2 separate regions of the Homo sapiens genome follow, and region 1 is linked to region 2. The links are contacts of gene promoters, found by promoter capture Hi-C in human tissues and cell types (Jung and others, 2019). All regions are on one chromosome and are shown on one strand. The core of a region is centred on a gene start or on the middle of the fragment in contact, and the rest is flanking DNA. Distances in the headings are between cores, read along the strand shown. Region 1 has its middle 19 kb from the start of KDM4E. Region 2 holds the start of FUT4 (fucosyltransferase 4).

Evidence for each region. The method cuts DNA at HindIII sites, captures the fragments that hold promoters and counts their contacts. A contact is called where the count stands out against the background at its distance.
Region 1: a contact is called between a fragment that was not itself captured here and the fragment with the promoter of FUT4 in region 2, in 1 of the 25 tissues and cell types used here (H1 embryonic stem cells).

The regions. Positions count from the first base shown.
Region 1 is chr11:95,005,333-95,008,111 of GRCh38, forward strand. No RefSeq gene overlaps it. Among named protein-coding and RNA genes, the nearest start is that of KDM4E, 19 kb to the right of the region's middle. The HindIII fragment of the contact is 4,646 bases long and covers 1-2,779 here.
Region 2 is chr11:94,542,667-94,545,366 of GRCh38, forward strand. FUT4 (fucosyltransferase 4) reads left to right here and starts at 1,255. Exons shown (of 1, transcript NM_002033.4): 1 at 1,255-2,700. The coding sequence starts at 1,468. It overlaps PIWIL4-AS1 (PIWIL4 antisense RNA 1), which reads right to left. Exons shown (of 5, transcript NR_135093.1): 5 at 2,666-2,700. RefSeq lists a silencer at 1,443-2,012. The HindIII fragment of the contact is 7,218 bases long and covers 1-2,700 here.

The DNA of each region.
Region 1 (2,779 bases), core at 46-2,545, 460 kb after region 2:
TTTTCCTTTCCTTTCCTTTCCTTCTTTCTTTTTTTTGTCTTGCTCTGTCACCCAGGCTAGAGTGCAGTGACCCAATCATAGTTCACTGAAGCCTCAACCTCCTGGGCTCAAGTGATCCTCCCACCTCAGCCTACTGAGTAGCTGGGACTACTCCCATCACACCCAGCTAATTTTTTACATTTGTAGAGATGGAGTCTCGCTATGTAGCAATCCTCCTGCGTCTGCCTCCCCAAATTCAGGGATTACAGGCATGAGCCATCATGTCCAGCCAGAGTGAGCAATTTTGAACTGTTTTATATCAGCATTTTGTAGATGAAGCCCATTTCATAATTTTAGAAAAATGTTTCCTCATAATACAATCCCTTTTATGTTTATTAATGCCCAGATACACCTAGCTTCTTTACATCATATAAAAAGATGTATCACTAGCAGAATTTATCTATTTTCAAACATTAACCTGTGATACTAGCACTATGTCTAATAAATGACATAGTGTCATAGCACTATGTCTAATAAATGACACTATGACAGATAAATGACAACAAAAATGGCTGACATGAGTTCAATTCAACCATTCATCTATTTGCAGATACTAACACAGAACACAGGGAGTGAATAATACTTTTTCTTCATAGCACTTAAAAAATGATTAATTTTCTGACTTATACTGCGTACATGTGTACATCTAGTTCTTCTGTGACACTGCATGATGGAAGAAACTACATCTACCTTGTTTGCCATTACTTCCCTGGCCCTGGTAGGATGTTACACATACTAAATGGTCAAATATCAGTTAAATAAATGAATATGGCCATGCATTGATTATCAGCCTCAACCAGCTCATCATTTCATTACTCAGTGTTTTCCAACTAGTTAAGACACATTCCATATTTTCTGAATGAAAGCAGTGAACGGTTATTTTCTCTTCATTACAATTTCTAGTAGCCTACCCCAATCATTAAAGCTAATTGAGAAATTCCCCACTAGTCAGTATCACATTTATCCTCTCTTCATCGGAGACCCTTCTTCCAAAACACAAAATCAGAATGGTTGAGCAGCATATTTCAGCATTTTAATTTACTTTAAAAGGGCTCAGAAACCATGTCAAGTTCATCCACAAACTTCCATCCCATTTATACTCCTCCTAATTTACTCATTCTAAACAATTATGCTTAAATTGCTCATTAAACAAAGCCAGCATTGAAGAAATTTAGGTAATGCTACCCTAAAAATATATTGCTTTATTATAGTGATTATTTTGAGCTGCAGGAACTTGAAAAACACAAGATGCAAGGCTCTCTGAGGGTCCCTCCATCTGCCTTAAGATAGCTTTTACAAAAGAAACTCAATTGTCATTAATCCTCTGAAAATTAACTCATTGCGGGAAAGGAGACTTCACCACACCCAGACAGACCTTGTTACAAACCATCATCTATCCTTCTAAGGGTCTATTCATCTTTCTCAAAATCTATTTATCTGAGGATATTTTCTTCAACCCCTGAGCGTTTTATTCATTTCAGCAAAAGACTTTAGTCAAAGGGTCCTTGTAATTTCCTTGACTGATGAGCCTAATTATTGTTGGTTAGGTTGTCATTGCATCAGATTTCAGGCCTAAACACCATTACCTCTTGAGAAAAAGAAAAGCATATAGGAAGCCTAGTTAGGACAAAATGGTCAAAGGTGAGACTCCTTACACAGACCTAAGTCTTTGACTTCTCCATTCTAAAAAGCTTCCAGTGATTTAATCGTCCTTCTCCTTCAGGTGCAGAGAAGGAGACTCCCTTACAAATGGAGATATACTTTTTAAATTTTTCTTACAACCAAGAAAGAGTTTGGAGGTGCAGAGCAAAGATCATTACAACACAGATCGTTGGCAGTGCATATAGTCAGCAGGGGACTGAGAAGAGAGATTTTAGTTGACTAAGAGGTTCCCATGGGAGAAGCAGGATCAACTAGAGAAAAGGTTCCTATGGGAGAAGCGGGAGCAAATAGAGAAGTAAAAGCAGAGAGGACTAATTAAATAAGTTGATTATTGCCCCAGCAGCAAAATCTTTAGGAGTTTCCTTTAGAGGGGAAATTTAGAGGGGAAATCCAGGCCAAAATGAGTGGATAAAGTAGACACTTTCTTTTCCAGTGGCATGACTGTTTACAATAAAGTCACACATACCAGGGCACAGGGATTTTTTAGTTTAGAAATCCTTGGTTTTGGTTCAAAATATGTACAAGAACCCTCTTGGACACTGTAGCTATTGAAGCTGTAAAAACATGCACCTGTTTGCCTTTTGTAAGGAGGCAACTTTTGATACATTTAATCTTTTAGATGCCAATGAAATAAATAAAAATGCCCAATAGTTTGCAAATCTTTTCTCCCATTCTGTAGGATTAATTTCAAAAGATACAGAAAAGCACTCAATTAAATTCAACAGGGTGTCTCTTCAGTTTGTTAATTGTTTCCTTTCCTATGCAGGAGCTTTTTAATTTGATATAACCTCATTTGTCTACTTTTGCTTTAGTTGCTTGTGCTTTTAAGATCTTACTCAGGAAATTTTTGCCCAGACCAATGTTCCAAAGTATTTCTCCAATTTTTTTCTAGTAGTTTTATAGTTTCAGGTCACACATTTAAGTCTTTAATCCATTTTGATTTGATTTTTGTGTATGGTGAGAGATGGGGCATAATTTCAATCTTCCACTTTTGGATATCCAGTTTTCCCAGCACCATTTATTGAAGAGTGTGTTCTTTCTCCAATGCACATTCTTATTGCCTTTGTTGAAAATGAGC
Region 2 (2,700 bases), core at 5-2,504:
CCCAGGCTGGAGTGCAGTGGCGCGATCTGGGCTCACTGCAAGCTCCGCCTCCTGGGTTGACGCCATTCTCCTGCCTCAGCTTCCCGAGTAGCTGGGACTACAGGCGCCCGCCACCAAGCCTGGCTAATTTTTTTTTATTTTTAGTGGAGACAGAGTTTCACCGTGTTAGCCAGGATGGTCTCGATCTCCTGACCTCGGGATCCGCCCGCCTCGGCCTCCCAAAGTGCTGGGAGTATAGGCGTGAGCCACCGCGCCTGGCCTATACTTGATTTTTAATGAAAACATTCTTAAATTCATATGGCTAACGCAAATTTATTTTCTGTAGGCATAACATCAAAAACACCTGGCAGGATTGCCCCATTCCCAGCACTGTCTATTTCTCCCCTAGTATCAGTGGGACTCCACTGATGCACAGCTGTGATCTACTAAAACTTCTCTCAAAACTTTCTCCTCTCCTTAGGTCAGCAGCCCCGCCCCTGATCTATTTGGAAATCCCCTGAATAAAAGTTGAATATCATAAACCAAAGCGAACACCCAGAAATTCAAATTCAACCCGTAGGTAAAAAATTTCTCAAGTGACTGTAGACGTAGATGTCTCCAGTGTCGCCTAATAAGGTAGAAGAGGCCAGTGCGATACTGTCTTTACACCCTTAACTTGGGTGCTAGAATATTTATCTTCGTCATCATTTTATCATCCAAACTATTTTGCATAACTTTCATGGGTGCAGAAAATGTTTTTTAAGTGCTTGGTAAAATTAATAGTGATATTCATTCATTCATCTCACTGAACAGGCAATAAATTCCTTGACGACAAGGGCCTTGGGGGGGTCACATCTTCATCTTTGGTTTATGAGTCCTGTGCGTCTTGGTACAAGCAATACTACTATGAGCCGGCAAGTCAGACTTATTTGGTAGGGGACCAAAGGAAAGAACATGTTTTGATTGCTAAGAAAACATTTTGTTCTCTATCCTTTACTGGGCTGGCAGGCAAAGGAAATGTTCTTATGAGCACTCACATTGAAAACTTAAGTTCTTCACCAAATGCAGAGACTCTGAAGGCCACGCCGCTGCGGGCTGCCTCCACAATTCGACCGTCTCGGCGGGCCACGAGATCCTGGCCACGGATGCGGTGGCCGCGCCTCTGCTCGCACGTTCCCCCGGCCTCTGGACTCCCTCCCTCCCTCAATCCCTCCCTCCGGCGGGCGTCGCTGGCGGGTGGCTAGGCCCAACGGCAGGAAGCCGACGCTATCCTCCGTTCCGCGGCGCCGGGTCCGCCTTCCGTCTGTTCTAGGGCCTGCTCCTGCGCGGCAGCTGCTTTAGAAGGTCTCGAGCCTCCTGTACCTTCCCAGGGATGAACCGGGCCTTCCCTCTGGAAGGCGAGGGTTCGGGCCACAGTGAGCGAGGGCCAGGGCGGTGGGCGCGCGCAGAGGGAAACCGGATCAGTTGAGAGAGAATCAAGAGTAGCGGATGAGGCGCTTGTGGGGCGCGGCCCGGAAGCCCTCGGGCGCGGGCTGGGAGAAGGAGTGGGCGGAGGCGCCGCAGGAGGCTCCCGGGGCCTGGTCGGGCCGGCTGGGCCCCGGGCGCAGTGGAAGAAAGGGACGGGCGGTGCCCGGTTGGGCGTCCTGGCCAGCTCACCTTGCCCTGGCGGCTCGCCCCGCCCGGCACTTGGGAGGAGCAGGGCAGGGCCCGCGGCCTTTGCATTCTGGGACCGCCCCCTTCCATTCCCGGGCCAGCGGCGAGCGGCAGCGACGGCTGGAGCCGCAGCTACAGCATGAGAGCCGGTGCCGCTCCTCCACGCCTGCGGACGCGTGGCGAGCGGAGGCAGCGCTGCCTGTTCGCGCCATGGGGGCACCGTGGGGCTCGCCGACGGCGGCGGCGGGCGGGCGGCGCGGGTGGCGCCGAGGCCGGGGGCTGCCATGGACCGTCTGTGTGCTGGCGGCCGCCGGCTTGACGTGTACGGCGCTGATCACCTACGCTTGCTGGGGGCAGCTGCCGCCGCTGCCCTGGGCGTCGCCAACCCCGTCGCGACCGGTGGGCGTGCTGCTGTGGTGGGAGCCCTTCGGGGGGCGCGATAGCGCCCCGAGGCCGCCCCCTGACTGCCGGCTGCGCTTCAACATCAGCGGCTGCCGCCTGCTCACCGACCGCGCGTCCTACGGAGAGGCTCAGGCCGTGCTTTTCCACCACCGCGACCTCGTGAAGGGGCCCCCCGACTGGCCCCCGCCCTGGGGCATCCAGGCGCACACTGCCGAGGAGGTGGATCTGCGCGTGTTGGACTACGAGGAGGCAGCGGCGGCGGCAGAAGCCCTGGCGACCTCCAGCCCCAGGCCCCCGGGCCAGCGCTGGGTTTGGATGAACTTCGAGTCGCCCTCGCACTCCCCGGGGCTGCGAAGCCTGGCAAGTAACCTCTTCAACTGGACGCTCTCCTACCGGGCGGACTCGGACGTCTTTGTGCCTTATGGCTACCTCTACCCCAGAAGCCACCCCGGCGACCCGCCCTCAGGCCTGGCCCCGCCACTGTCCAGGAAACAGGGGCTGGTGGCATGGGTGGTGAGCCACTGGGACGAGCGCCAGGCCCGGGTCCGCTACTACCACCAACTGAGCCAACATGTGACCGTGGACGTGTTCGGCCGGGGCGGGCCGGGGCAGCCGGTGCCCGAAATTGGGCTCCTGCACACAGTGGCCCGCTACAAGTTCTACCTG